Regions from separate parts of the Homo sapiens genome. Here region 2 is linked to region 1. Evidence: promoter capture Hi-C in 16 types of primary human blood cells and fetal thymus (Javierre and others, 2016). All regions are on one chromosome and are shown on one strand. Each heading gives the region's core, a stretch centred on a gene start or on the middle of the fragment in contact. The rest is flanking DNA. Distances are from core to core; before and after follow the strand shown.

Region 1 (3,538 bases), core at 92-2,591:
TGTAATCCCAGTACTTTGGGAGACCAGGGCGAGCGGATCACGAGGTCAGGAGTTCGAGACCAGGCTGGCCAACATAGTGAAACCCTGTCTCTACTAAAAATACAAAAAAGTAGCCGGGTCTGGTGGTGTGCGCCTGTAATCCCGGCTACTAGGGAGGCTGAGGCAGGAGAATCGCGTGAACCAGGGAGGCGGAGGTTGCAGTGAGCCGAGATCGCACCACTGAACTCCAACCCGGACGACAGTGCGAGACTCTGTCTCAAAAAATAAAAAAAGTTCTCTTGGACAGCATCGTAAACCCTTTCCTCACAAAGCTGGCATTGGATCGAATCTGCCTGCCTCTTTCTCCACATCTTCTTTTAAAAAAACGTAGTATAATTATTTGTAATCCTAGGAAAAACGTGGCCTTTGGTTTGAATAATGGCTCAACTTCTCACTAGATGTAGTTCTGTGGGCAATTTTACCTATTGTAGCCTTAATCTTCATCTGTAATATGGAGATAATTCCATGTAACTCATAATGAAGGCGAGGAATAACTAAGAATATATAAAGTATCTGGACATAGTTAATTTGTCTCCTTTTGTCCACCCCATGTGTGCGTTGATGCAGAAGAGGCATTCCAATGTTTTCTCATCCAGACTTATGGTGGGGGGGTGGTGCCTGCAAAGAGTATGTTTTGCGATCTTGTCCAGGACAGTACTCCGGCCAGGTAGCAGCGAGGCTACCTCAGTTTACTAAAAAAGGGACACGGGTACTGAATATCTGGAAGGACTGGAGGTGGGAGTGGGGGCACCCTGAAAAGGGAGGCTCTACCTTTATGTTTCGATGGGGAGGTGTGTATAGTGACTGTGTGGGCACCGACAGTCCTTCCTCACACGGGGGACTGGGAGTCAGGAGGAACGACTAGGGACTCGTCCAGTTTTCTTCGGGTCCCCAAACGTGGCAAGAGTCCACCCTCTGCAGCGCCAGGCGCCGTACCTCACTTTCTCCATTTGCGGACTCCAGTTCCCAGGATGCTGAGCAGCGGCCAATCTCCTGGCTCTTCTTCCATCCCCCTCCCGGGAAAGACTGCCCCTGGCCAAAGCAAGGGGCAGTTGGAACTTCAGGGACCAACGACTGCAAGGGTATGGAATTAGACAGCGGCCAGAGTCCTAGTTTCGCGGCCTGGGCGGTAAATGAGGCGGCTCCAGGGCCGCGGCGGAGAGGAGGGGGGCTTCGTTCCCACGTGTCTGCCCTGCTGCCGGCCCGGCGCGGTCGGGGTTAACCCGGAGCGGAAGGATCCCGCAGCGTGTGCGTAGAACTGCAGAGTCACAGCCTTTCCTCCGAGAGGGCGGGATCCCTCCGCCGCTCCGCTCCAACACAAAATAGGGCCGCCTCTTCTCCTTTCTCCCCCTCTCGAGTGGGGTGCCCCGGGCAAAAGGCCCCCCCGGATCTAGCGCCGAAGGCTTCACGAATCTTCACGACCGCTGCCCAGCTCTTGGGCCAGGAAATAGCCCCTTCGCAGGAACCACCCTACCGGCCGAACAGGAGGCGGAGGGGGGGAGGCGGAGCGGCGCCGCGCTGCACTACTTTCCTCTCCGGTTGCAAATGGCTGCCTCGTTCCCCACTTTCCGCTCAGTTTCCTGACCCCCCGGTGCCGGGAGCCGGGGTTGGGCCATGCACCTCTAGGCCGCCTGCGATCACAGTCAGCCGGGGGTCGAGGGGGTGCCACCGACCAGAGCCGGCCAGGCCGGGGGCGGGGCAGCTCCCGAGGCCAGAGGGGAAGGGAGGCGAGCGCAGGGCCTGGAGCGGCCGGAGGGGAGCGGGCAGAGGGCTCGCACCGCCCGCCCCTTCCTTTTCCTCGCCTACCTAGCCTCCTCCCTTCCCCGGGGGGAGCAGAAGGTGGGGGGCTCGAAGCCGCCGAGGGTGAGCGCTCGGGGTCGAGAAGCCCGGCGCTGGGTGTGTGTCAGGTTCAGCCCCGCGGCCCCGCCGGCCCCGCGTCGCCGTAGCTCGCGCGGCCCCGGGCGCCGGCCGGGGCGGGGAGAGGGGCTCGGCGCTCCTGCGAGGGTCTCACGTTCCATCCGGGCCAGGCGCGGGGCGGCGCGGCATTCCTTCCGGGCTGCTGGGGAGGCGCCTCGACGTTCCATCTGGAGAGCCTCGACGTTCCGCCCGAGCCCGGCGCGGGCGGCCGGGGCGCTGGCCGGGCCCTAGGACTGAGAGGCCGCCCGGCGACGCGGATGCGGAGCCTGCTCGCCCAAGATCAAAGCCACCGGTGCTCTCTTTGTGTCCGCTCGGGATTCGCCGCCCTGGGGCTGTCCATGGAAACCTAAACTGCTGGAACCTGAGGCAGAGAACCCCTCTTTGGCTTCTTGCTGTTTTTTTGTGGGGGGAGGGTGGCCACTCCGACCTGGATTTACCGTTCTTGGCCCCCCTAAGCCCCCCCGTGCGGGGGGCGGCTGTGATCGCTCTGGCGGTTGGAGGTCGGGGAGCGGCCCGGGCTCTGGCCATGTTCTCGGATGAGGATTTCTGGATCGCCCTGTGAAGAGGTGAGTGAAGTCCGCCCGGCCAGGGCCCAGAAAGGGTTGGACTGGGGGCACAGCCAGATGGACTATCTTAGCCGGAGCTGGCCTTTAGGTTGGAGAAGGGGGTGCCAGAGCTGGGGAGCGTTCCTTTGGCAGGGTCTGTCAAGGGAACCTGAGCCAGTCACCAGGGCAGAACTGAGGCCTGGTGTCTTGGGGTGTGCCTCTTTAAAGACTGGGGGTTCAGGGAACCACGGGAGTTTGGGAACCTGGCCAGATAGCCTCTCTGCCTGTTTATTTTTGTGTTGGGGGAGCTCGACTAAACTAGGACCCGGGCCCTGATGCCAGCACCAATCCCAGGCTGCTGCTTCTCCCCTCAGGGTTCCTTGTGGGCCTTGGGACAGAGCAACTTGGGATGGTGGGGGAGGGTGTCACTGCCAGGTCAGACTTATGCCAGTTGGACTTTAAGGTTGTTCCTACCGAGTTGGGCACCCAAAGCAGTCCCTGGAAAACTCAAGGAACCCCAGATCCTTCACCAGGCCTTCTTTCACTGGGCAAAGGGAGAGTGTGTGGAAACTGACTAGTTGTGATGAAGGGGGTAGCTGGGGCAAGAAGGAGGCGGGGCTGGGGCAGTTCTGGCCCTGCTGTTCAACTTTAAACTGCCCCTGCCTGGCAAAGTGACCCCAGTGAGGCCGAGTGCTGTCTTAGCCTGCTTTGCCTCCCCTCCTCTTGGGATGGATCTAATCTCCAGAGGATTATAGAGGAGGCCGTTGAGATTTGCTCCCTGCGAATGTAGGCTGCAAAAAATGGCTTTTGTCTTTTGCCTTCTCCCGGCCTGGTATGGAGAGCTGGCTGCCCATGAGTCCCTGGCCAGTCCTGCAAGCCCCTCCCAGACCTCTCCAACCCTTTTTTGACCAGGGATTGTTAACTGGTTTTCTGATCCTGTACCAACTGTGCAGAATGGGGTGGCCTGTGTCTCTCTGGAGGAGAAATTGCTTGATCAGAGCTCTTTTCTCCTGGAAACCAGTGATTCCACCCCTGGC
Region 2 (3,386 bases), core at 270-2,769, 35 kb after region 1:
AAGAATGTGGAGGCCTTTTGGGAGGGTGGCATATGGGTGAGGGGAAGGAGGGAGCTAGTTAGATGAGGAGCTGGCACTAATGATACAGGGCACCCTCCTACAGGAGAGCCCCGCCCCAGAGCCACCCACTCAGCACAGCTATACCTACAATGTCTCCAATCTGGATGTGCGACAGCTCTCGGCCCCACCTCCTGAAGAACCCTCCCCGCCCCCTTCCCCCTTGGCACCTTCTCCTGCCAGTCCCCCTACTGAGCCCTTGGTTGAACTTCCCACCGAACCCTTGGCTGAGCCACCCGTCCCCTCACCTCTGCCACTGGCCTCATCCCCTGAATCAGCCCGACCCAAGCCCCGTGCCCGGCCCCCTGAAGAAGGTGAAGATTCCCGTCCTCCTCGCCTCAAGAAATGGAAAGGAGTGCGCTGGAAGCGGCTTCGGCTGCTGCTGACCATCCAGAAGGGCAGTGGGCGGCAGGAGGATGAGCGGGAAGTGGCAGAGTTTATGGAGCAGCTTGGCACAGCCTTGCGACCTGACAAGGTACCGCGAGACATGCGTCGCTGCTGTTTCTGTCATGAGGAGGGTGACGGGGCCACTGATGGGCCTGCCCGTCTGCTGAACCTGGACCTGGACCTGTGGGTGCACCTCAACTGTGCCCTTTGGTCCACGGAGGTGTATGAGACCCAGGGCGGGGCACTGATGAATGTGGAGGTTGCCCTGCACCGAGGACTGCTAACCAAGTGCTCCCTGTGCCAGCGAACTGGTGCCACCAGCAGCTGCAATCGCATGCGTTGCCCCAATGTCTACCATTTTGCTTGTGCCATCCGTGCCAAGTGCATGTTCTTCAAGGACAAGACCATGCTGTGTCCAATGCATAAGATCAAGGGGCCCTGTGAGCAAGAGCTGAGCTCTTTTGCTGTCTTCCGGCGGGTCTACATTGAGCGGGACGAGGTGAAGCAAATCGCTAGCATCATTCAGCGGGGAGAACGGCTGCACATGTTCCGTGTGGGGGGCCTTGTGTTCCACGCCATCGGACAGCTGCTGCCTCACCAGATGGCTGACTTTCATAGTGCCACTGCCCTCTATCCCGTGGGCTACGAGGCCACGCGCATCTATTGGAGCCTCCGCACCAACAATCGTCGCTGCTGCTATCGCTGTTCTATTGGTGAGAACAACGGGCGGCCGGAGTTTGTAATCAAAGTCATCGAGCAGGGCCTGGAGGACCTGGTCTTCACTGACGCCTCTCCCCAGGGTGAGCAGTGGGCCCTTGAAATGGATAATATGGAATGGGAAAAGTTTCTCCCAGGGTCACTGTTACAATGTCTATAAGAGGACCTGTAGCTTCTATGTGAATGATCCTCCTTCCCCCACCTCAGGCAGGCAGGGGGTCTCTTGAAAACTCCCAGTGAAAGTGTTTGAGCCTCTCTTGTCACCCTAAATTCCCTTGTAGTTGAAAATATTTTGCTGGTCTAATCTCACATATTCTAGTTCTGTTGCTATCCCCAGTGGAACAAAAGGAAACAGTTCTGAGACTATCATCTGCCTCACCCAACCTAATCCTAACCAAGTTCCTTGGGGTTGTTTTTCCCTGGACGAAATCAGAATTATTTTGATTTTAGTTTTAGTGTTAATGATAAAATAACAGTAAGAGCAGGTACCTTTTTTTGAGTGTGTACTGTGAGCCACAAACTAAGCTAAGTGATTTGTGTAGTTTATTTTGTTCATACAACCCTATGAGGTAAGTATTATACTACGATTATGCCCAGTTTGTTCATAAAGAAACTGAGTCTCAGATTTCAGTACAGTCGTGCATTGCTAAATGACAGGGATACATTCTGAGAAATGCATTGTTAGGTGATTTTGTCATTGTGTGAACTTCATAGAGTGTACTACACAAACCTAGATGGCATAGCATACTACACACCTAGGCTCTGCGGTATACCCCATTGCTCCTAGGCTACAAATCTGTACAGCATGTAACTGTACTGAATACTGTAGGCAGTTGTAACATACGGTAAGTATGTGCATCTAGACATAGAAAAGATACAGTAAAAATACAGTACAGTATTATAATCTTACCAGACCACTGTTGTATATATGATTCCTCATTGAATGAAATGTTGTTAAGCTGCACGTGACTGTATTTGGCTCAAGGTCTCATGACCAGTACTAGAACCTGAACCCAAGTCTTTCCAACTCCAAAGCATGCCTGCTCTTTCACTAGGGACCTTCCATGGCCTATGCTGGGTCTCCTGGGCCCTGGGTTTGTATCTCAAGGCTCTGTGATGACCCCTTGGGGTTGGAAACCTCCTGCTTCTTAAGAGAGAGTGAGACTAGGAGGCCAAGAGAGGATCTGGAAGACCAACACAACTTCATGATAGGGAGGCTTGAAGGCCTCAGAAAACTGCAGTTCTGGATTGGGGTTAGGGACTGGAGGTCAGTGAGCAGAAGTTGCCTCTGAGGACTGCTCTCTTCCCTGCTTCTTAGCCGTGTGGAATCGCATCATTGAGCCTGTGGCTGCCATGAGAAAAGAGGCTGACATGCTGCGACTCTTCCCTGAGTATCTGAAGGGCGAGGAGCTCTTTGGGCTGACGGTGCATGCCGTGCTTCGCATAGCTGAATCAGTAAGGAAGGGGCTGGGAGCTGGGGGGCTTGGCGGGCACTGAGAACTTTGGCCTAACCCCAAAAAAACTCAGGCTAAGGTGAGTATGAACTGTGCCCACAGCTGCCCGGGGTGGAGAGCTGTCAAAACTATTTATTCCGCTATGGGCGCCACCCCCTTATGGAGCTGCCACTCATGATCAACCCCACTGGCTGTGCCCGATCAGAGCCTAAAATCCTCACACACTACAAACGGTGAGCTTGTGATGCTGGAGCCAAGGGATGTGGGTGTGGGTGTTGACAGGGATCCTCTGGTCCCATTATGAGGATTTAGGATACAGATCAGAGTTCCCGTGGAGAAAATGGGGAATCACTCTTAGACTTCCTAATTAGAGGGCATGCAGGTATTAGTAGGGTATCCTTTTCCTCCTCTCCCAACCTGCTCAGATGCACTTGGGATATAGGACAGAATTATCTTGGGCACCCTGGGGAGGTAATGGGTAAACTGGTGAAATTTTATGAAATATATAAGGGACTTGGTCACCTCTTTCTTCTCCTGTTTTACTTCTGGGGGAGGGCCTGTGATTCTCCCAAACCTCAGATACCCCATGGGTGCTAGGGTCACCTTCCCTTCCCCATGAGTGTTGGTGTCAAAAATAAATAGTTAGAGATATAATAGAAAAATAATAAAACCTTACATTTGTATAGCACTTTATACTTTTTTTTTCAAAGCGTTTTCACATCCATTATCTCATTTGATCCTCACAACAACCTTATGAGGTAGGTAGGGCAG

The links. The method cuts DNA at HindIII sites, captures the fragments that hold promoters and counts their contacts. A CHiCAGO score of 5 or more calls a contact.
Region 2: a fragment that was not itself captured here is called in contact with the fragment with the promoter of KMT2D in region 1 in 3 of 17 cell types (endothelial precursors, M1 macrophages and M0 macrophages); the score reaches 6.1 in endothelial precursors.

What each region holds. Positions count from the first base shown.
Region 1 is chr12:49,058,597-49,062,134 of GRCh38, reverse strand. It overlaps KMT2D (lysine methyltransferase 2D), which reads left to right and starts at 1,341. Exons shown (of 55, transcript NM_003482.4): 1 at 1,341-2,522. RefSeq lists an enhancer at 1,274-1,523 and silencers at 1,574-2,193, 2,355-2,649. The HindIII fragment of the contact is 17,382 bases long and covers 1-3,538 here.
Region 2 is chr12:49,024,040-49,027,425 of GRCh38, reverse strand. KMT2D (lysine methyltransferase 2D) reads left to right here. Exons shown (of 55, transcript NM_003482.4): 49 at 104-1,244; 50 at 2,480-2,616; 51 at 2,718-2,848. Among named protein-coding and RNA genes, the nearest start is that of PRKAG1, 7.0 kb to the right of the region's middle. The HindIII fragment of the contact is 8,267 bases long and covers 1-3,386 here.